Linked DNA regions of Homo sapiens: regions 1, 2 and 3 are each linked to region 4. The links are contacts of gene promoters, found by promoter capture Hi-C in blood cells and fetal thymus (Javierre and others, 2016). All regions are on one chromosome and are shown on one strand. The core of a region is centred on a gene start or on the middle of the fragment in contact, and the rest is flanking DNA. Distances in the headings are between cores, read along the strand shown. Region 1 holds the start of RAPGEFL1 (Rap guanine nucleotide exchange factor like 1). Region 2 holds the start of CDC6 (cell division cycle 6). Region 3 holds the start of TOP2A (DNA topoisomerase II alpha). Region 4 holds the start of PPP1R1B (protein phosphatase 1 regulatory inhibitor subunit 1B).

Region 1 (5,584 bases), core at 1,078-3,577, 550 kb after region 4:
TTTTAAAAAATACCATAAGCCTTCGCCCTGGTTCAGAAATCTGATTTAATTGGTCTGAGATATGGCCTAGGCATCAGTTTTTTTTTTGTTTGTTTGTTTTTTTTTTTTTTGAGACAGTCTTGCTCTTGTTGCCCAGGCTGGAGTGCAGTGGCATGATCTCGGCTCACTGCAGCCTCCACCTCCCGGGTTCAAGCGATTCTCCTGCCTCAGCCTCCTGAGTAGCTGAGATTACAGGCACCAGCCACCATGCCCAGCAAATGTTTGTATTTTTAGTAGAGACAGGGTTTCACTATGTTGGCCAGACTGGTCTCGAACTTCTGACCTCATGTTGCACCCTTCTCGGCCTCCCAAAGTACCGGGATTATAGGCGTGAGCTGTTGCACTTGGCCAGTATTTTTTTTTTTTTTTTAATATGGAGTCTCTCACCCAGGCTGGAGTGCAGTGGCATGATAACAGCTCACTGCAACCTTCACCTCCCAGGTTCAAGCAATCCTTCTACCTCAGCCTCCAAAGTAGCTTGGATTACAGGTGTGTGCCACCATGCCCGGCTAATTTTTTTTGTATTTTTAGAAGTGGGGTTTCACCATGTTGGTCAGGCTGGTCTTGAACTCATGACCTCAAGTGATCTGCCCGCCTTGGCTTCCCAAAGTGTTGAGATTACAGGCGTGAGCCACCAAGCCCAGCCAGCATCAGTATTTCTGAGAAGCTTCCCTGTGATTCCAGTGTGTAGTCAGGGTGAAAACCACTGCCACTCCAGGAGGACCATGACTTGATGCTGGCTCTCCTCACTGATTCAAAATGTTGAACTTAGTCTCTGCCTGACATCCTTGAGCATTTGGGGGAGTACTGGGGTCCTGTGTCCCAAGCTTCTAGCTTCCAGAAGTCTCTCAGTCTGTTTTATTTTCAACCCCCTACACCCTTCACACTCCCCAATTCGCCCTTCCTAACCAACAATTCCCAAATCCTGCCCAGAGAGAAGGTTACCAAGGCAACCGGCTTAATCTGGTAACTGTGGCATGTGCTGGGAGAGAAGCCCTTCCCTCTTCCTATTCAGTTCATAAAATGCTACCTGGGGAGCTCCAACCCATTCCAGCCACTTTCCCCTTTCAAGCCAGGGGATATTGGAGTGTCCAATAAGGGGAGCACAGGAAGCTGATACTCAGACCTCTAATACAGCTTCTTAGCCAAAATTGTGCGCTGTCTTCTTTTTACTGTTTCCAAATCCACAAACAGATGGGTGTGCAAAGCTTTATTTCTGTGAACACATGCTCTAGCACACATGGGAACAGATATGCACATACATTGATACGTATGTCATACACACCCTGTTCAGTTTTACTACCACTCCCAGCCATTAGCATTCCTGTCTCTGCCTGGTTGGTGCTCGGTAAACAGGGGTGGGGCATTGTCCAGAGAGCCTCAACCCATCGAGAACCTGCTGCCACTCCCACACCTTGTAAGTCTAACCTGGATGTTCTCACACTTAGCATGGCTTTACGATGCACCCCCCTCCTCCCCCACACTCCTTCTGGGGCAGCATATCCTTAAGGACAGAATGCTCCTGGTGTGGGCATCAGGAGTAAGGATTACTTGGAGTGCTAATTGGCACCACTTTTCCCACTCCATGGCCATGTACACTTGGGCTCTGTGCTTGATGATAGTCGGCAGTTCTGGGGCTTGTCACCTGTCTCCATGGCCCTGCTTCCTTCTGCTGCCAGCTGGGCTCAGGTGCCCTTGTGCTCCTGGTCTCCTCCCCACTGCCTATTATCCCCTCCTCACCCCAGCTAGACCTGCCACAACCTGCTGCTCCCTGCCTGGCTCCTACCTGCCTGCCAGTACCTGCCCACAGACCAGGCCCACACCACCTATTGTGCCCTACCAGAGAGGACAGATGGGCACCGCCTCCAGTGGCAATGCTAATTCACCCAAGAGGCCTTCCCAGCTCTTCTCACAGAAGGAAGATAAACTCCACATATTTCTGTGAGTATGAGAAAGGTGCACACTCTTGGGTTCAGCAATCTGTAGGCCTGACTTGGGTACACAGGTAGGTGAGTGAAGGTGTCCAGGCCACAGACCTGTCCTGACTCTTTGAAATGATGCTGAGACCCGGTTATCCCTTGAGCCAGGAATCCTTCCCCATTGGTAAATCTCTGACTTACCTTTGCCCTTAATTTCTTCTGCTTAGAACCCAAGTCCCTTACTGTTTCCCTCGCGGTCAACCCCAGCGCGCGAGTTCAAGCCTCGTGCGGCGCGGGGGCGAGCCGAGGAAGGGTAGGGGCGGGGACTGGGCGGGGACTGGAGGAGGGGGCGCGGTCTCGGTTCTGCCACCTTCCCCCTCTTCACGGCCAGGAGCGCAGCCGCCGCCGCCGCCGCCGCCGCGTCCTCTCAGCCTTGCGCTCCGCCCGCTGCCTCTGCCGCCGCAGCGCAGAGCCGGGCGCACCGGCCCCGCAGCCTGCCCACTCTTCGGGCCGCGTGCCGGCTGCAGCCGGCATGGGGGGTTGCTGAGAGCGAGCACTCCTTTCCTCTGGCACCTCCCCCGGCTACTGGCCACTGGACTCTGGCCAGCGAGGCTCGGCCCCTCTGGCCCCCAGTCTGGCGCCTGGCACGGCCCTCTACTCTGCTCCTCCAGCTCTGAGCATCGTGTCTTCGCCGCCCCCCCCGCCCGCGCCTGGGATACCTGGGTCCCCCGGCGACCCCTAGGAGAGGGGCGGGGGGGGGCATGAAGCCGCTGGAGAAATTTCTGAAGAAGCAGACGTCGCAGCTGGCGGGCCGAACGGTGGCGGGAGGTCCCGGCGGGGGTCTGGGGAGCTGCGGTGGGCCTGGAGGGGGTGGGGGACCCGGCGGGGGCGGCGGTCCAGCCGGGGGACAGCGGTCGTTGCAGCGGCGTCAGAGCGTGTCTCGCCTGCTGCTCCCCGCTTTCCTCCGGGAGCCCCCCGCCGAGCCGGGGCTGGAGCCGCCCCCTGAGGAGGAAGGAGGAGAGCCGGCGGGGGTCGCGGAGGAGCCGGGCAGCGGGGGGCCCTGCTGGCTGCAGCTGGAGGAGGTGCCGGGGCCCGGGCCTCTCGGGGGAGGGGGGCCCCTGCGCTCCCCTTCCTCCTACTCATCTGACGAGCTGTCCCCAGGCGAGCCCTTGACTTCGCCGCCCTGGGCCCCTCTGGGCGCCCCCGAGCGGCCCGAGCATCTTCTGAACCGGGTTCTGGAGCGGCTTGCTGGAGGGGCTACCAGGGACAGCGCCGCCTCAGGTAAGGAGCCGGTGGGCTCGAACACCCAGAGCAGGGGCTGGCCCCGGCTCCTCTTCCTTGCCCTTGGAGCGTAGGGGTGGCGCCGTGCCGGGGCTTGGTTATAGGGTTGAGTGGTCCGCGGAAGCCGGCTAGGGGCCTAGCGGAGGTACAGACCCTCCCGCGGAAGAGGAGAGCAGTACTCACCTTCCTCCCTACAGCAGCCTCACCCTCGTCTGGAGAAGCAGCTGAGCCTCTTACTCTCCTTCAGCCACCCTTCCTTTCCCCTGGGCATTGGAGCCACTGACTCCCATGGGTCCCTGATGTTGAATACCTCCTCCTGTGGCCCCAAATTAGGGCCTGACACATTAAAATGGGAGCTGCCCAGCGCAGCCATGCCACCCGCCAGAGGTGCTTTAGCCCTGAAAACCCTGGGGTCCCTGACTGTTCAGAGGCCTACACAGCGCAGGCTGACCCACCCAGGGAGGCAGTGCCAGACAGGCACAGGCCCCAAGCTGCCTTTTAGGCATCAGCAAAGGGATGCGTTGTCCTTAGCAGTTTGGTGGGGGGGATAGTATTCTCCTTGGGCTGGACTCAGAAGGTGTCTGGGAGGGGAGAGGTGGCTGGGCCGGCATCATGGCCCTGCAGCATCCAGGGTGTCCAAGCGCCTCCAGCTTCCACCCTTCGGTGGCAGGCCTCAGCACCCGGCTTTTTTTTTTTTTTCTTTTGGAGATGTAGTCTCACTGTCACCCAGGCTGGAGTGCAGTGGCGCCATCTCAGCTCACTGCAACCTCCACCGCCCAGGTTCAAGCGATTCTCCTGCCTCAGCCTCCTGAGTAGCTGGGACTACAGGCATGTGGCACCACGCCTGGCTAATTTTTGTATTTTTAGTAGAGACAGGGGTTTCACCGTGTTAGCCAGGATGGTCTCGAACTCCTGACCTCGTGATCCACCTGCCTTGGCCTCCCAAAGTGCTGGGATTACAGGCGTGAGCCACTGGCCTGGCTAATTTTTGTAGTTTTAGTAGAGACGGGGTTTCGGGGTTTCACCAACTTGGTCAGGCTGGTCTTGAACTCCTGACCTCGTTATCTACCTCCCCCCACCCCCACCCCACGGCCTCCCAAAGTGCTGGGATTACAGGCGTGAGCCACCGGACCTGGCACACGGCCTCTTTAAAATATAATCACCACACCCTGAGAAGCTTATTCCCTAAATGATGATACTATTTCACCACTCCCTTTCAGCACCCCTACTAAGGGGCCTTTGAGGAAACCAAGGCCCCAAATCTGGTTAGTTCTGAGGTAGAAGACCGAGGGTTCTTTAGGTCTAGCTCTAGGCATTACTCTAAGCCCAGGAGGGTCTGAGGTTTGGGAGCCCCGGCTGAGGCCCTAATGGTGAGGGCTTTCACACTTGCTCTCAGCCCTCGGCAGGGAACCCCAACCTAGATGTGTGGAGGGGGGCTCCACTCTCCTAGATCCTTCTCAAGACCTGGGTCCTCTCCTTTGGAGCAGGCTGTAGTTGCCCTGGGGAGCTGACACCTTTTGGATTTAATTAGAAAAATATCAGACACACACAGCTCTCCTAACCATAACTTCCCGCCTACACCACACACCCTGTGTCTCTATGACACATTCCCTAGGGAGGCTGTACATTGGCCCAGAGCCTGCTTTGGAAAAGACAGATGCCCAACTGTGGCCCCCATATCAGCATCTCCCCAACTCTGCCCCATCTTACTCTTCCTTTGCTCCAGCTTAGGAATCCTGTGAGATAAAGTCTATGAAGGATGTCAGGCCTCTCGTTTCCTCACCCTCATCCCTGAAGCTGGGGGTCAGAGCTGGAGGCTCTCTGACTCATTGTAAGAACACAGCAGGGTAGCTGGGCAGGGAGGAAAAGGGAGAAGCTGTCTTTCCCCTTTTACAGGGGCCTGGTGCCACACGCTCCGCTCATTCTCCCCTGGGGTAAGACTCCTGAAATGTCACCCATGTTATCTGGCAGCCTGGATCCCCAGAGTAACTAGTTTGGGAAATTCCAAACCAGTCCCAGGTGAATGAGAATCAGCTTAACCTGCCACTCTGATGTTCTCCAATAAAACCAATGTTCTCAAGTCATCCTGGTCTCCTCCCAGGGTGTGTGGGAGGAGAGAACTTACAGAAGTTACTCTGAACCTACCAAAGCCTCTCCAACGTCCAAGCAGCCCCCTCTGACCGCTAGGTTTTACCCTAACACTCTGCTTGCCTCAGGCATATTGAGAAAAGGACAAAGACTCAGGATTCTGGGTTCTTATTCCAGCTCCAGGCAAGTCCCTCCCAGCTCTGGGCCTCAGTTTCACATTTGCGAAATGAAATCCTTGAAGTCAATTACTTTGTGTT
Region 2 (5,638 bases), core at 2,718-5,217, 660 kb after region 4:
GCAAAGGTCTTGAAGTTATTTCTCTTACTGATTCATAATGGGTGTGTGTATGAATCACTCTCACATAATTTAGATATAAAAACCTATGAGGATGAGGGAGGGAGGGGAAGAAAAAAAAGGACTCCTTTCATTTTCATCCGTACTTCCCAGATGGGCTGAATCTCCGATTATTTGACCCATCATTGTTATTAATATGGTTAATAAACTACCTATTTATTGATTGAATTGTTCCTCCTGACTTGAAATAGCCTGCAAATGGAGCTTGCCTAAATGACCTTCGACTTCCTAACCCTATAATTCATTCTGTCTTCTTGTGATGGTATTGCTAGTGTGTGTGTGTGTGTGTGTGTGTGTGTCTACACACACAGTCACACAAAAGGATGCCAGACAGGTTCTTCCAGTGTGATTTGATTCCTTCTCCATGATACTGTGTATGAGTTAGCAGGTGATAAGGACACTAGTTTTCCTTCCATTACTGAGGCAGAGCTGCTTGCCATGAATGTACCTCTTAAGTATTTCCCAACCCAATCTAACCATGAACTAAACGACCCACTGGAAGAAAGCTGCCTGTCTCCAACTTCCTAGTACTCTGCAAAGAGAGGTAAAGGAACTATGGAAAATGAATTAGAACTAGAAATATGTCAGCCTCAGGATTCTGACTGCCCCAGAGGACAACTGGGGAAATGCTTTGCCTCTGACATCACTGGAGCCCAGTCTGGATCATTTTCACACATAATTGAATTCATTCTCCATTCCTAGGCTTAGGGGTGTGAGACTTAAAAGACTGTATGCTCTCCAGCCACAAGTGTTTATGCAAAGGGTGGATGTCCACTTGGCAAGAATGTCCTTTCCATTCCTTCATTCAGCAAGCTCTTATTGTACACTTTACTCTGTACCAGGCATCTACAATATGAAGATGAAAAGTCTGTTTTTGCCGGGCGCGGTGGCTCACGCCTGTAATCCCAGCACTTTGGGAGGCTGAGGCAGGTGGATCACCTGAGGTCAGGAGTTTGAGACCAGTCTGTCCAATATGGTGAAACCCCGTCTACTAAAATTATGGGCGCCTGTAATCCCAGCTACTCAGGAGGCTGAGGCAGGAGAGTTGCTTGAACCCGGTTGGGTGGAGGTTGCAGTGAGCTGAGATTGTGCCACTGCACTCCAGCCTGGGCGACAGAGCGAGACTCCAAATAAAAAGTCTTTTTTTTTTTTTTCCAACTTGGAAATGGGTCTCCCTATGTTGTCCAGGCTGTCCTCAAACTGGGCTCAAGGGATCCTCCCACCTCAGCCTCCCGAGTAGCTGGAATTACAGATGCATGCCACTGTGCAAGGCTAAGACATGGTCTTTGACTCCAAGGAACTCATAGTTTAGTAGACTTCAGGATAGCTACCAGGAGAAACCTATGCAGGATATTAAAAGGCTTTATGGGAGTTAGCCAGGGAAGATGGATGGTTAGTGGCATTCCAGACAGAGGAAACAGCAAAAACAAAGGCACAGAAGCAAGAAACAATATGATGTGTACGCATCACGTTACTGGAGGATCATTATTAGTGCAAAGGAAAAGCTTCAAGTAGATAACCTTTCAGTCCTGACATTCTGTGATTATTTGCCTGCTTCCACAGTGGTCATTTACACCTGTAGGCTTTTCTTGGGCCACTGCTATGTTTCCTAGTGTCTTCTTTTCTTTTTTTTTTGAGGCGGAGTCTCGCTTTGTCGCCCAGGCCGGAGTGCAGTGGCGTGGCGTGATCTCCACTCACTGCAAGCTCCACCTCCCGGGTTCACACCATTCTCCCGCCGCAGCCTTCTGAGTGGCTGGGACTATAGGCACCCGCCACCACGCCTGGCTAATTTTTTTGTATTTTAGTAGAGACGGGGTTTCACCGTGTTAGCCAGGATGGTCTCGATTTCCTGACCTCGTGATCCACCCGCCTCAGCCTCCCAAAGTGCTGGGATTACAGGCGTGAGCCACCGCACCCAGCCATTTCCTGGTGTTTTCATAGGTTCCAATATGCATGCTAAGTACTCATAGCTTCCTAGGTTGTTTACCATAACCACCCCTTACAGCTGGCTGGGCACACATTACCATTTCAGGTTATTAAGGGCAATTCTTAGGTGCCCATGTTATAAAAATACGAACAGTGAAGGTTGCTTCCTGAGTTCTACTATCCTACTAAGACATCAGAAATACCATCTAGTCCTTTTAAAAGCTTCCACTGTGGCCAAGAGCGGTGGTTCATGCCTGTAATCCCAGCACTGTGGGAGGCTGAGGTGGGTGGATCATGAAGTCAGGAGTTTGAGACCAACCTGGCCAACATGGTGAAACCCCTCTACTAAAAATTCAAATATTAGCCAGGCGTGGTGACGCGTGCCTGTAGTCCCGGCTACTCAGGAGGCTGAGGCAGGAGAATGGCTTGAACCCAGGTGGTGGAGATTGCAGTGAGCCGAGATCATGGCACGGCACTCAAGCCTGGGTGATAAAATGAGACTTGTCTCAAAAATAAAAAAAAAAAAAGCTTCCATTGTGTGGTAACTTTCTCCATTCATGGCAGCCCATTCTCTTCACTTTTGTAGTTTTCAGCTGCTAAAAAGCCTTCACGAAATGTACTCCACCATCTCTTCCTGTTTAGAACCTGAATCTGTCTAATCATCCCCCTATGATAAAGTGGTCAAGAGTTTGATTTTCTGTCAGAGTTCAGAGTTCAAATTCTAGCTCTTCCACTTACTAGTTGTGTGACCTTGGGCAAGTTTACTCAACTCCCCTCTACTGTAGTTCCCTCATTTGTAAAGTGAAATAACACCAGGTTCATGGGGGTGCTTGTGAAGATTAATAAGGTGATGTAGGTAAAATACTGAGCACAGCCCCTGGCATACACTTAAGCACTCAATATTGGCTCTCTTCATGAACTAGGTACCAATTCACTGATGATCGTAATATTGTTGCTTCCCTCTTTCTAGGCTTTATGGCTCTATTTTGTTTGTTACTGAGGGGTAAAAGATAAATGTTTACCATCACCTAGAATTGGGTTCTGGCCTCTAAAGGAACCTGAGGCTTAGATGAATTATTGGCTTTGGAAGCTGGCCTTCAAATTACTGCGCTAATTTATATTTTTCATTAAAAACTCAGCTTGCCTCTTCTATATAGCTGTCTTCCCTGGCCCTGAAACCCTAGTGTTTCGCCATAAAAGATTTTAAAATTAAGGGGTCATAATTCCCTCCCCATGATGTGTGGATTAATGGTAAGAAGATGCACAGAACATAATATTCTTAGGTTGAACGAAATAAAAGTAAAGAGTTGGCTCTGTTTCTCACCTTTGAAGCACAAATCAAGAGATACTATGATGAAGCATAGTTTTTCTTTATATAGGTGTGTAGAACTTTACCATAAAAATCACTAGTTCAGCCATCAGGAGATCTGGATCCTAGGCTCTTCACTGTCACCAAGATGCTGTGACCTCTAACCTTGTATAGAAGTTTGCTTTGTACTTTGCGAGGTTGAGCATTAGAGAGGTAAGGAAAGTGCCTAGCATCATACCTGGCGCACAGAACCCAAAACGGTAGGTATCATGTAGCAGTTCTGAAAATCTAGCCCATCAGGATGATGCAAATGGGTACTTTAGGCAGTGAGAAGGGGAACCACATCTTGACACTTCCAGTCGAAGGAAGAGTGCGACTGCGCGGCAGCAAAGACTACGCCTCCCAGCGTGCTTTGCGGCGGGCCGGCCCGCTTTACCCAGAGTCGCCCTGCCGCAATCGCGCGTCTTTCCACCGAGGCCCCGGATGTAGATTCCCTCCCCCGTTCAGTGGTCGTGGCCTCACAGCGACTCTAAGACTTGGGGCTCTCTCATTGGCTGTAACTCTTCCACTGGATTGGTAGCAAAAAAAGAGGCGGTGCCCAAGGCGAAAGGCTCTGTGACTACAGCCAATCAGAATCGAGGCCGGGCTTTGGCGGGAGGTGGGAACGCTGTGGCCATTCGGATTTGGCGCGAGCGCGGCTGGAGTTTGCTGCTGCCGCTGTGCAGTTTGTTCAGGGGCTTGTGGTGGTGAGTCCGAGAGGCTGCGTGTGAGAGACGTGAGAAGGATCCTGCACTGAGGAGGTGGAAAGAAGAGGATTGCTCGAGGAGGCCTGGGGTCTGTGAGGCAGCGGAGCTGGGTGAAGGCTGCGGGTTCCGGCGAGGCCTGAGGTGAAGTGAAGGGAAAAGAGCTGAGCTCGCTGGAGGTCTGAGGTCGGGATCAGGGAAAGGGCAGGTGCCCTCGGGGTAGTTCTAGCAGTTATGCGTGGTGTGAAGGAGGTGAAAGTTGTAGGAAGGAAATATTCTGGGGTGCGTTGAGAGCTGCCTAGAATGAGGACTGAGTGCAGGGGCGGAAAGAACTGAGGGAAGACTGAGCTGCAGTGTGAGGGCTTGGGATAGAAGAGACTAAATGTGGCGGGTGCTGGGCTGAACTGGTGATAAAGACACCCCGCGTGCCTGGAGGGAGGAAACTAGAAGTTCTATATAAATCAATTCATGTAACTTTTTTTTTTTTTTGAGACGGAGTCTCGCTCTTGTCGCCCAGGCTGTAGTGCAGTGGTGCGATCTCGGCTCACTGCAACCTCTGCCTGCCGGGTTCAAGCCATTCTCCTGCCTCAGCCTCTTCATGTAGCTGGGACTACAGGCGCCCGCCACCACGTCCGGCTAATTTTTTTTTTTTTTTTGAGACGGAGTCTCGCTCGGTCTCCCAGGCTGGAGTGCAGTGGCGCGATCTCGGCTCACTGCAAGCTCCGCCTCCCGGGTTCATGCCATTCTCCTGCCTCAGCCTCCCGAGTAGCTGGGACTACAGGCGCCCACCACCACGCCCGGCTAATTTTTTGCATTTTTAGTAGAGACGGGGTTTCACCGTGTTAGCCAGGATGGTCTCGGCCCGTCTCGGCCTCCCAAAGTGTTGGGATTACAGGCGTGAGCCACCGCGTTTGGCCGTAATTTTTGTATTTTTAGTAGAGACGGGGTTTCTCCATGTTGGTCAGGCTGGTCTCGAACTCCTGACCTCAGGTGATCCGCCCGCCTCAGCCTCCCAAAGTGCTGGGATTACAGGCGTGGGCCACCGCGCCCGGCCCATTTCAGGTAACTTGTTATTGCATCGCTCAATTGGTTAAGAACTTGGGCTCTGGCACCAGATGCCCGGGGTTACATTCCTGTTTTTCTGTGACTTTGGGCCACTGTTTATCTCAGTTTTCTCATGTGTAAAATAAAGGCTAATAATAGTACCTACTCCTAAGATCGTTGTTAAACGAGTTGGTACCTAAAGTGTTTATAACAGCGCCCTTCCACGTAGTAGGTAGACAACAAATGTCAGCTGTTCTTGCATAGATTTGGATGTGAAGCAAAAGTGAATGCTAAAATAAGTGTGATAACATAATTAGGAAATAAGTGTTAATCATCAGTATAAATAAATTCCATGTTAGTTATTTTCTCTTCACTTTCACATATTGACTAGTTGTCCTCTTATTTTTTTTAATCTAGCTGTGCTGTCGTCATGCCTCAAACCCGATCCCAGGCACAGGCTACAATCAGTTTTCCAAAAAGGAAGCTGTCTCGGGCATTGAACAAAGCTAAAAACTCCAGTGATGCCAAACTAGAACCAACAAATGTCCAAACCGTAACC
Region 3 (5,912 bases), core at 501-3,000, 790 kb after region 4:
AAAAAAAGTTCCCAAACAGCACAGGAGTGGCATTAACAAGGTGTTAATTTAGCAATTTTTGTCCATAGTACTGTTTCTACGAGAAGCTCAACCTCCTGGGCTCCAGGAAACCAGCTCACCTTTATCAACTGATTGAAATGACAGGAGCCCTGGCTACAGCAGGTTTGGTAGAAATGATACTTTTTGTTTTTACTTTTATCTTTTTTAAATTTTTATTTGGAATGATACTTCTTATGAAAGATTTGACCAGATCTTTATATTAAAGGATTTACTCACCTAGAATCTCATCAAAGATTTTGTACAAACCAGGAACAAAAGTGACTTCCCTATAGTTAATGCCAACATCTTCATCGTAAACCCACATTTGCTAGAAATAAGGCAAAGAAATACTGTTATTTTTATTCTATATTCATTGTTCTGTTATCATGATTACCATAAAGTGTTCATATTAAGTATTACCATATTTAGGCCAGTTCCAGTGACACTCAGTACATGAGAGATACAGAAAGGTCACACTCAGTACATGAAAGGTACAGAAAGAAGAGTATCCATTTCAACTACTAGGTTAACTGCCTTTGATGAGCTTGATTTTACCTGGGTCACTAATTCCACAGAACCAATGTAGGTGTCTGGGCGGAGCAAAATATGTTCCAATTGTGTTTTCTTTTGATAGATTCTTTCAACAGACAGTCTTTTCTTAGCATCTTCATTTTTCTTTATTTTGTTGACTTGCATATTTTCATTTACAGGCTAGCAATTAAAAAAAAAGAGAGAAAGAAGGGAATTTTTAATCATAAGTTTACCCTAAACTAGGAACAAAATGCCTACCATAGTGAGATGTCAACATGCATTGCAATCTGTTAGTAGGCAGTGGTGGAGTTGCCAGTTTTGTACAAATAGGACAATTTAAATTCGCTGCGGCCAGGTCCCCAGGTGTCAGGTTAAACAGACACATATTATCTCACCAAGTGGGTCTGTCTGGAAACCTCTTTTCTTGAGCAACATGGTAGATGTCATCAATAAAATACACCCACTTCTTTCAGTTCCTGCATACATTATTTACCGAGTGCCTATTATTATAAATTATTTACGGTGTCCCGAGCACACGACACCGTAAATAATTCTAGTTCGGCAGCAGCAGTTTGGGCGGCTATCCGTTCAATCCCTTGGCCACCTGAGCGTTGTGAACTCAGGAAGGGGGCGCTTTTGTAAGCTGGCCAGCTGCTCCAGAGAAACACTGTGCTAGGCTCTGCCCTTTCCAAGATCGGGGACATTCAAGACCGTTTTCAAGCAGCGGGCAGGAGGGGAAAGCATCTGTACGCGCGACTCAATAACGTCGCACCCGGGCCGCTGTAACATGGATCCACTACGGGACCAACGGACTCCTGCCCCTAGAAACAGGGCAACAACGCACGACACCCTGGAAGCCGGGTCATACTTCACTACTAGCACCAGAAGGGGCTTCCGCCTCTCCACGATCACCCCGGAACCGGGAATGGAGAATATGGGCTCCCAAGCCGGTCGCCGGCCTGACCGCAGCCCCAGAGCTTCACCCGTCACGGGCGGCCAGAGAGATGCCCGGGCCGCGCGGAGGCTCCACCGCCAGTCCCCCCCGCGAGCCGTACCTGCAATGGTGACACTTCCATGGTGACGGTCGTGAAGGGGCTCAAGAACCCTGAAAGCGACTAAACAGGCAGGACCCCACGAGACCACCCCCGACCAAGCCGCTTCTCCACAGACGCGCGTCGGTTAGGAGAGCTCCACTTGAACCTTCCTTTAGCCCGCCCGAAGCAGACCAGCCAATCCCTGACTCGCTCTCACCGTCTCCGTCCAGAAGAACCAATCGTAGCTTGCCTTTTATATCCACCTATGAACGGCTGAGTTGGCCGGGGTTTGTTTGAATAAACCAATCAGGTTAGGGAGGCGGGACTAGAGAGGCTTCAAAAGGCACCACTCGGCGTCATAGCGGAGAGATTGACAGGGAATCTGGCCAATGAGAAGGGCTCACTTGTTTTCTCGTGCGGAAAGCTTGGAAGAGATGGGCTTTGGAAGCGGGAAGGGGTGGCCTGAGGCAAAAGTGTGCAGGAGAAAAGCAAAGGATGTTTATTCTCCAGGAACTGCCAATCTATTTAAGATCCCTGAAATCTAAAAACTGTCCTCTGTTCTGACGTTGTTAGCGAGGGGAATGGGAGCCTTAGCTTCGTTTTCCTGAGGAAACTGAGTGCCGGCTTTCTGGACAGGCAGCCTGGCTGCTTGGTTGAAGCGAACAGATTCTGGCATCTGCCTCAACCCCGCCCCCTTTACCCTCGAATTCATTTTTCAAAGAAATAAAAGTAGGCTGTGTGCGGTGGCTGGAGTCTGTATTCGCAGCACATTGGGAGGCCGAGGCGGGAGGATCGCTGGAGCCTAGGAGTTGGAGACCAGCCTGGGCAACATAGCGAGACCCCGTCTCTACCCAAAAAGGAAAAAAAATAGCCAGGCGAGGCATCGCACACCTGTAACTCCAGCTCCGGAGGCTGAGGAGGGAGGATCGCTTGAGCCCCGGGGATCGGAGATCGAGGCGCCTTGAACCGTGATTGCTCCACTGCACTCCAGCCTGAGTGACAGAGCGAGGCCACCTCAAGAGATAAATACATAAATAAATAAATAATAAAAATAATTAAAATAAAAGTGCCACAGTTGTGGTTTGGGGGTTCCATATAGTGGAAGGATGTAGAAAGGCTTTGCAAAATGGAGGGCAGCATTCAGGTCCCCAGTAGAGCAGCGCTGGACTGCAACTGGTAAATCGAAAGGGATAACTTGTGGTGGTAGCCTCTTGAGCTGAGGGTGGGCTCAGCCGTCCGGGGCTGAAACCTTTTCCGCAGCCAGCTGGCCAGATACCCTCCGACTGGCTACTTTTGCTCACCTCCGTGAACCCTGCAGTCCAGAACAGCTGTTCCAATTTGACAAGGAAATGCCAAGACTGAAGCTTTTTTGTTTGCTTGTTTTTTTGTTGCTTTTTTTTTTTTTGAGATGGAATCTCACTCTGTCGCCCAGGCTGGAGTGCAATGGCGCGATCTAGGCTCACTGCAACCTTCACCTCGCGGGTTCAAGCGATTCTCCTGCCTCAGCCTCCCGTGTAGCTAGAATTACAGGCGCCTGCCACCACGCCTGGCTAATTTTTGTATTTTTTTAGTAGAGACAGGGTTTTGCCATGTTGACCAGGTTGGTTTCAAACTTCTGACCTCAAGTGATCTGCCCGCCTCAGCCTCTCAAAGTGCTGGGATTACAGGTGTGAGTCACTGTGCCCGGCGAAGACTGAAGTTTTAAAATTACTCTTACATATAAATGTTTGAGTGGATTAAACAAAGTTATTACCCTTACAAGAAGCCAGAAAAAAAAAAACTGCACAATTTGAGTGCCTACTAATTCCAGCTGAGCCACCTCTTTCCATTCATTGCTTCCTTCCTCTACCTGGGTTTCAGTCCCAACTCAGCAATTTGCCATTCGTGTCATTTCGATGGAGGAAGCCTCTCGGTGCTTCCGTTTCCTCTCCTAAAAAGAATAATTAACTATGATCTCAGAGTAGTGTGAGGGTTACATGAGAGAAGTGTAAGGTAAACAGTGGGCTGACAGTATTAGGTAGCAGGAATTTTCCTTAGGCTGGTGTGACAATTGTGGATGTAATTTTTTTTTTCTTCTTCTAAAAGAAACCAGAGGTCAACCATTGTTACATAACCACAGTGTGTCAAGGGAGGGCCAATGGGGAGCCGTATGATGTGGCAGGAAGCCAAGGATGGAAGTTGCCCATGGGCTAGGGGCACTCGGAAACCATAGGCATGGTGCTTCGGCATTGTTCTGCTCTCTTGACCTTTGGCTCCCTGGCCTCCAGCAGTCTCTGCGTGTTCCCAGCTCTGCTCTGCTCACCACATGTGTTAGAGAGCACAGGACCACCAGGGGCTCAGAGCAGTGGTAGGGAAGCTTGGCCAGTAGCCTCTGCTCAGCCAGAAGACTGACCAGGCCCTGGGATCCAGGGCCTGCATGCCACTCTCTGCAGGACACCCGAGGGCCCTGACAGAAACCAGCCATGCTGGCTTCTACCTCCTAGAACGCACTACCTCCAAGGTAGTGGGGATGGTGGGCATGCTTCCCCAAGGATGGCAGCTCAGTTTCTGCAGCTCCCGGCCTCTACCCTGTAGCTCATCCCAGCCTGCAGTGACCCACTGGGCAATGAGGCAACAGGAATTTAACAAGCAGCTCCAGCCCTATTTTTTAGGGGCCCAGCTTTAAATCTGTCCTGCAGTTTAGCTGGATCCTGTGTGTCTTTGTTCCAAAAACCCAGAAGAAGTACTGTGGAGTCAAAAGGACTTTGGGGACCGGGTGTGGTGGCTCACGCCTGTAATCCCAGCACTTTGGGAGGCTGAGGTGGGTGGATCACCTGAGTTCAGGGGTTTGAGACCAGCCTGGACAACTTGGTGAAACCCCATCTCTACAAAAATACAAAAAAAAAAATTAGCCATGCCTGATGGCGGGTGCCTGTAATCCCAGCTGCTCGGGAGGCTGAGGTGGGAGAATAGCTTGAATCCAGGAGGCGGAGGTTGCAGTGAGCCGAGATCGTGCCATTGCACTCCAGCCTGGGCGACAGAGCAAGACCCCGTCTCAAAAAAACAAACAACAACAACAACAAAAAACACAAAAGGACTTTGGGGCCACACACACCTAAGTTAGAATTCTTCCTGGGTCTCTTGGTTTCCCCATGCCATTATCCTTTATCAAAGACACAGAGGGCAAAATGAGATATGCAAGTGTCGGGGACAATCCTTTTCCAGCTCTGTAGCACAAGGTGGTCTTGCTCTGGCCCACCCCCCTTCTCTTCTGGGTACAAGCTATTTCTCTGCCAGTCCCTCCCTCTTCCCAGAGCCTATTGCAGGGGGTCCTGCAGGACTTGTGGGGACTATTGAAGAAAGAATAGTGGTGGGGGTCTGGGATGGGTGGGCCTGGAAGGCATTGCACACAAAGAGGGAACTGCAGGGCCGGGCACGGTGGCTCACGCCTGTAATCCCAGCACTTTGGGAGGCCGAGGCGGGTGGATCACGAGGTCAGGAGATCGAGACCACCCTGGCTAACAAGGTGAAACCCCGTCTCTACTAAAAATACAAAAAATTAGCCGGGCGCGGTGGCAGGCGCCTGTAGTCCCAGCTACTCGGGAGGCTGAGGCAGGAGAATGGCGTGAACCCGGGAAGCAGAGCTTGCAGTGAGCCGAGATTGCGCCACTGCAGTCCGCAGTCCGGCCTGGGCGACAGAGCGAGACTCCGTCTCAAAAAAAAAAAAAAAAAAAAAAAAAAGAGGGAACTGCAGGTGCCTGCCAGTCCTGGGAGGCAAGAAGGGGTTGGGGGTAGTTCCAGGGGGCTGTGGTGGGGGGAGGGGAAAGATACCATCCTCATTATCCACCCACCCTGCCCCCACTCTGCAGGGGCCCAAAGTAGCTACCTGGACATTACCCCCTCCCTCCCCCAACCTGTACTTGAATATGTGGTTGAGTACTTAAGGCAGATCCCTGACTAGGGTATTTGCTGGGTATATGACTTTGGGCAAGTCACTCAGTCTCCCTTACAAGTTCAGTTGTAGATCAAATTGACTTTTATTTGTGATTCATGAATTGGGGCAGCCCCCATTCTACAAAATAGAATGAAAGCTTCCATTGGGCAATAGCAGAATGGTGGGTTTTGTAAGGTGGGAACCAGGAAACAGCAATAGGAAAAAACCTGATTGGTTAACATCAGGTACTTCAGGTTACTTTTTTGTGGAGTTAAAGCAGAGGGGACTTCCTTATTAAACTGACTTAGGTAGATTGGACTCTCCTGTTTTCAGGAAAAAGTGGTCTGTTTTGGAATCTATCTGCTTCTTTAAAGTTTCAGTTGGATTACATGGCA
Region 4 (5,629 bases), core at 1,289-3,788:
CCTGCCCACCCCTCCTCCAGCTCTCAGGAGTCCCATTCCCTTCCTCCTCTGTCGCCCACACAGCCCCCACCACCTGGCCGCCCACCTGAAAAACTTTTCCCCAAGTTCTTGAGAAGTCGCGTAGGATCCAGGAGAGAAAAATCAAAGTAATAAAACCTCATTTAATTCCTAACGGAGGGCAGAGCTGCGAGCTGCAATTATCTTAATGCTGAGCTATTTTTACTCTCTCTCCATCTCTGTCTTCTGCCTTTCTCTGTTGTGAGGTTCGCTGTCTCTCTCTCTGCCTCCCTTTGTCTCTCCATCTCTCAACCATGTTTTCTGTCTCTCTTTGCTTTCTCCTCTCTCCCCCCAATCTCTCTCTCACGTCCTGTCTCTGTGCAGTCTCTTCCTCCTCCTTCATGTCTGTCCCTCTGTCAGCCAGTCTTCCCCACCCTTCTTGGCCCCAGGATTTAGATGCCAGCCTGGCCACAGGCTGGGGGAGATGGGCAAAAACCCTCCCTCCGCTCCCAAAGACCTCATCTTCCAGGCCTAGCTGAGAGGGAGGCTTCTCTGCCCTCATCTCCCTTCTCAGCTGCCCCAGCCTGGGATCCGGGGAATGTTTCCTGATCTGGGGTCTCCCAGAGCTCCAATAAGTTCAGCAGAGCCTCCGTAAATAAGCCCTCCTGCTCAAATGGGGCTCAGCTGCCATGTTCCCTGAGGCCTTTTCAGCTCCTATGGGCTCTGAGGTGCAACTGGTGCTGATGCCTCCCTGTCTCCACCCTCTCATCACCCTCCCAGCTATCCTCTGTCCCCTTCATCCCCACGATCCTTCCCCACACTGCCAGCACTGGAAGCCACAAGCCCCTTCCCCACCTCTGCCCACCCAGTGGCTGTCCGGGCCACTGCCTGGGCCATGCCCTTCCCATACCCCTTCTTCCTTTCAGGACCTCCTTATTTACCCTCCGAAGGCACTGCCAAACAGGTCTTTGCCACTCCCCACCACACCCCATCTTCGACAGAGGTTCTGGGCCAAGCCTAGGGGCTGCCAGAGATGCCTACACCCCTGGGCCAACAACTTATCATCCAGCTGTTTCCCAACAAGTATATAAGTCAACAAACATACAGGGACTTGAGCCAGGCCTGGGGTGGGCTGATGTGGAGCTGGATGGCCAGGACATCCCACTCCTATGAGCAACACTCTGGACCTCCTGCCACCCTTTCCCTCACCCCCAGAGTGGGCCCTGACCCCAATTCCAGAAGATTCCTCTGGCCTTTCACTCCACCCAGGACCCAGATGCTGGGGCTGGGAGTGGAAAAGCTGCAGGAGGATTGGGGGTTTCAGGCCTGAGAGTGACCAGGAGAGAGGACGCCAACACAAACAGAGCCCCAGGAAAACATGCATGTACACGTCTACACACACCCTCTCAGTGCTAGACAGAAGCATTCAGACCCTCTGCACAGCTCCAAGGAGGGAAACAGCAGCTCCTGCAAAGGCACCCAAGGCCCGGACAAATAGACCAAATAGACAGGGACATTCCACCCACAGGGCCAGCTCCTCCCGCTCCCGCTCCAGAGACACACACAAATACCTCTGGAGAGAGAGAGGCTCACACCTGTCTCCCCCAACCCTGCTTCTGAATGCACCAAATTCATGCACGTGATGGCACGTGTACAGGCAGCCCCCAAACCCACCCCAACTCTGGGCCGGCCCTGTCCTCCCCACCCCATTAGATCCGGAGAGGAAAGACAGGAGCCACGTGAATCTACAGTACATCATGGCAGGGCACATTCCCCTTCTCCCTCACAGGAGCGCTCACACATCCACAACCTCATACCCCAGCAACTGCACAGCGGAGCTGTGGATACAGTCCCCCACCCCCTGCAAGCTGGCACACGCCTGCCCATCACCTTGACAGCCTCTGACATCCTCCCCCACACCCACACCCTCCCCCGCACACACGCAGTCCTCCCACACCCTGCCACTCACACCTGCATCTTTGACACTCTGACACACTTACACAGACACACTCACACCACACCGGACCCCCCAAAACACACTCCCTGGCTATGGGCACCACAGGGCCCCGGCACACCCCTGCACACTCTCCCTGCCACGATGACTGACACGTGTCCTCCCACACACAACTCGGTCACACTCGCTCCCTTTCCAGGACACCCCCATTCACAGCGTGACAGGCTGGTACTCTCCCCACGACCTCGCAGGCCTCTCTGAAACTCCCAGTACCAGGACCACGAAGGGGTTAAAGCCAGAGTCCTGCCTCCCCGCTGCCCCTCTCCCCCTCCCTCCCCCTTTATCCTCTCTGCTGGACTCCATCAATAATGCAGCTTCAAGTTCTGGGGAGACCGCAGGGGGCCCCCCAGCTGGCTCCCCAGGCCTTGGCTCTAACTCCCACCCTCCTCCCAGCCCCAGGAGAACACGATTCTCCATGCTCATTGGCCAGTTTCCCCTAAACCCTCCCTCCGAGCACCCGGGCGCCAGTCCCAGGCGGAGGGGACGGGCTGGGGACCCCAAAGCTGGGACCGGAGGGTGAGCCCGGCAGAGGCAGAGACACACGCGGAGAGGAGGAGAGGCTGAGGGAGGGAGGTGGAGAAGGACGGGAGAGGCAGAGAGAGGAGACACGCAGAGACACTCAGGAGGGGAGAGACACCGAGACGCAGAGACACTCAGGAGGGGAGAGACACCGAGACGCAGAGACACCCAGGCCGGGGAGCGCGAGGGAGCGAGGCACAGACCTGGCTCAGCGAGCGCGGGGGGCGAGCCCCGAGTCCCGAGAGCCTGGGGGCGCGCCCAGCCCGGGCGCCGACCCTCCTCCCGCTCCCGCGCCCTCCCCTCGGCGGGCACGGTATTTTTATCCGTGCGCGAACAGCCCTCCTCCTCCTCTCGCCGCACAGCCCGCCGCCTGCGCGGGGGAGCCCAGCACAGACCGCCGCCGGGACCCCGAGTCGCGCACCCCAGCCCCACCGCCCACCCCGCGCGCCATGGACCCCAAGGACCGCAAGAAGATCCAGTTCTCGGTGCCCGCGCCCCCTAGCCAGCTCGACCCCCGCCAGGTGGAGATGGTAAGGGGCCCGTGCCCCACCCCGGCAGCGTACCCGACACACCCCGCGGGGCTTCTTCGCCCTCCCAAGGCGCTGCCCCGGCCGGACTGGCCTGGGGGTGGGGGCGCAAGGAGAGCCGGGCTCTGCCTCGGTCAGGACGGGGCGCGGGGCCGCGTGTGAAGTTAGCTGGAGACTCGTGCAACTTTTCCCCGCGGCTTTGGTCCTGATCCCGGGGCAAGAGAGTTCCTGGCAGTGAGGCTGGGGGTGCGGGGGTGGGGGGACAGGCCGATTCCAGACCGCCCAGGAGTGGGGTGGGGGCGTCCTTTGGTCCCAGCACAGTCCCCAAAGGGTAGTCAGTCTCCTAGGCTACCACCGGGACCGCTCCGCCTGGCTCTGTCCCAGAGCTGGTCAGATGTGAGCAGCGGTGGACACTGACCTTGTCACCCAGGGCAGGAGTATGAGGCTGCCACCGGGTGAATCCACTACCCTGCCCCTCTCTAATCCCGCGTGTGTGCCTGGGCTGGGGTCTCCAGAACCTGGCTCTGGCCTCCTGCTGTCAGGCCCCAGAGCCCCAACCCCAAGGAGGGAGAGGTGGGGAGTCATCACAAAGCCAGACCTCTTCCCACAGACTACTGAGTCCTCCTGAGGGCCTTCTTGGGGGTTGAGGGGCTTCCAAAGGCTGGCGGGTGCTGTGACAGAGAGCTCCACTTCCCATCCCTAGTGGAGCAGGGGTCACTTGTTGCTGAGCTGAGATGCAGCTGGCTCCCCACTGAGCAGTGATGAGGGGGCCAAGTCATTATGGGGGGAGATAGAGGGCAGGGGGTACAGTCCTGGGCCTAAGCAGCTTTGGGTCATGAGGGTGTCATGGGGAGCTTGGCTGGGGAGGTGGCAGTTTCAGCTTAACTCACCTGGTTCTCTTTGTGCATTTCCCTGGAGCTCAACAGGGACCTAATTAACTGACAGTTGGTCTGATTGCCAAGCTGAGGGGCGGGGCGGGGAGGGGGGCGGTCAGTTGCTGCTTGGCTCACGTAGCAAGGAGGGCAACTTTTCATTTCTCACAAGGACTGGGTGAAGAGTTCTGCAGCCTTACAGAGACTGGAAAAGAAGCCCAAACCAAGGCCCCCAGAGAGGTCCCCCAGGCCCCTTTGGGTCCCTGAGCCTCAGCTGGAGGTGGGGGGTGCCTGCAGTGCGCTGGCTCAGTCTCCTTCTGAAAAGCTGGATCCAGCTTGTTTGAAGCCCTTGAGCTGATCTTAGGTGGGCAGGGCCACATGGGTGCCATGGCCCGTGGGGCATCTTCCCCAGAGGGCCCAGCCGTGGCAGCTGGAGCTGTAGCCAGCTTTGGCTTCCGAGGTCTGATGTTTTCAGAAACTGGAGAGAGGAAGGGCCTTGGTGGGAGAAGATAGGAAGGGAGATGTCTGTTCTGGAGTAGCCATGGAGTGGGACAGGCATGGGCTGGGAGTCAGTGACTGGGGTTTTTCTCGTCCTTTGGACTTGTTGTGCTGTGTGGCCTTAAGCACATTGCCAAATCTCTCTGAGCCCTGCTTTTTCACCTCTGTAAAATGAGGGGGTTAGGTGAGCTACAGAGTTCCTTTTGGCTCTGACAGACTTTGATTCAAAGGTTCCCTGGGGACTCCAAAGCACTGTTTGTTCCCTGCTGCCTGGGGGTGGGGGAGGGCTGCAGGTGTCCATCCAGTCACCCCTCCCTCCATCTCCTTAGATCCGGCGCAGGAGACCAACGCCTGCCATGCTGTTCCGGCTCTCAGAGCACTCCTCACCAGGTAGGCCCCTCCCTGCCCACTTAGCCCTGGCCCCACCCTAGCTCTGATGCCTTCCTAGGGGCCCTGCCAAAGTCCCATGAACAGGAGTCAAAGCTGGAGACTGGGGAGTGGATAAGGTCTGGGAACCCAACTCTATTGGCTTTATTTATTGACATGACACCTCCCAGCCGCAGGAGGGAGAGGGCACACTTTCCCTGTCCCCAGAGATTGAGACCCTGGGGAAAATAACTCGGATTCTTTCTCTCTCTCCCTCTTCTCTTTTCCTCCTCGCTTGGTTCTGGTTCGGTTGGCTTTGGTGGCCTTCCTCAGAGGAGGAAGCCTCCCCCCACCAGGTGAGTTTCCTGGGGCAGCTGGAAGGAGGGATGCCTGGGCCCCTTGGGGTGGGGTGGACGGGTGCCTGCAGTGACAACCAACCAGTATGGGGTGCCACCCAAGAGGACACATTAGCATATCAATGGGCAGTCCTCTGAGAGTGCCTCATGCCAGGGTGCCACCAGCAGATCCTCCTCTGCTCAGACTCAGGGTGGAACCTCCTGGACCTAGAGTCCTGCCCTGAACCAGGCCATGGCTTATGGGGGGCCCCCCCTAAAGCCACAGGGTGGGGAGGCTCAGCCTAGGTGCAGGACCCATTAGCAGTGGCTAAATCAGTCTGCTTGGGTGGCCATGGGTGGGATGGAATGGAGGGATGGTGAAGGCAAGGGCCTCTGCTGAGCCCCTTTAACCTGGCACTTCCCCTGGCAGAGAGCCTCAGGAGAGGGGCACCATCTCAAGTCGAAGAGACCCAACCCCTGTGCCTACACACCACCTTCGCT

What was found. Contacts are between HindIII fragments. The CHiCAGO score rates a contact against its expected background, and 5 or more counts as called.
Region 1: the fragment with the promoter of RAPGEFL1 here is called in contact with the fragment with the promoter of PPP1R1B in region 4 in 5 of 17 cell types (total B cells, fetal thymus, naive CD8 T cells and 2 more); the score reaches 11.3 in total B cells.
Region 2: the fragment with the promoter of CDC6 here is called in contact with the fragment with the promoter of PPP1R1B in region 4 in 2 of 17 cell types (non-activated CD4 T cells and naive CD8 T cells); the score reaches 9.4 in non-activated CD4 T cells.
Region 3: the fragment with the promoter of TOP2A here is called in contact with the fragment with the promoter of PPP1R1B in region 4 in 1 of 17 cell types (neutrophils); the score reaches 7.7 in neutrophils.

Annotation. Positions count from the first base shown.
Region 1 is chr17:40,175,143-40,180,726 of GRCh38, forward strand. It overlaps RAPGEFL1 (Rap guanine nucleotide exchange factor like 1), which reads left to right and starts at 2,328. Exons shown (of 15, transcript NM_016339.6): 1 at 2,328-3,239. The coding sequence starts at 2,720. RefSeq lists enhancers at 1,207-1,707, 1,708-2,208, 2,600-3,456, 3,457-4,311 and a silencer at 2,240-2,369. The HindIII fragment of the contact is 3,169 bases long and covers 1,246-4,414 here.
Region 2 is chr17:40,283,912-40,289,549 of GRCh38, forward strand. CDC6 (cell division cycle 6) reads left to right here and starts at 3,968. Exons shown (of 12, transcript NM_001254.4): 1 at 3,968-4,179; 2 at 5,497-5,638. The coding sequence starts at 5,510. WIPF2 (WAS/WASL interacting protein family member 2) reads left to right here. Exons shown (of 8, transcript NM_133264.5): 8 at 1-225. RefSeq lists enhancers at 3,728-4,535, 4,304-4,483, 4,514-4,583. The HindIII fragment of the contact is 8,752 bases long and covers 2,510-5,638 here.
Region 3 is chr17:40,416,146-40,422,057 of GRCh38, forward strand. TOP2A (DNA topoisomerase II alpha) reads right to left here and starts at 1,751. Exons shown (of 35, transcript NM_001067.4): 1 at 1,626-1,751; 2 at 595-750; 3 at 277-367. The coding sequence starts at 1,646. RefSeq lists enhancers at 1,410-1,935, 1,657-1,746, 3,415-3,957. The HindIII fragment of the contact is 7,280 bases long and covers 1-2,026 here.
Region 4 is chr17:39,624,414-39,630,042 of GRCh38, forward strand. It overlaps PPP1R1B (protein phosphatase 1 regulatory inhibitor subunit 1B), which reads left to right and starts at 2,539. Exons shown (of 7, transcript NM_032192.4): 1 at 2,539-3,060; 2 at 4,757-4,817; 3 at 5,127-5,149; 4 at 5,559-5,629. The coding sequence starts at 2,980. The HindIII fragment of the contact is 16,288 bases long and covers 1-5,629 here.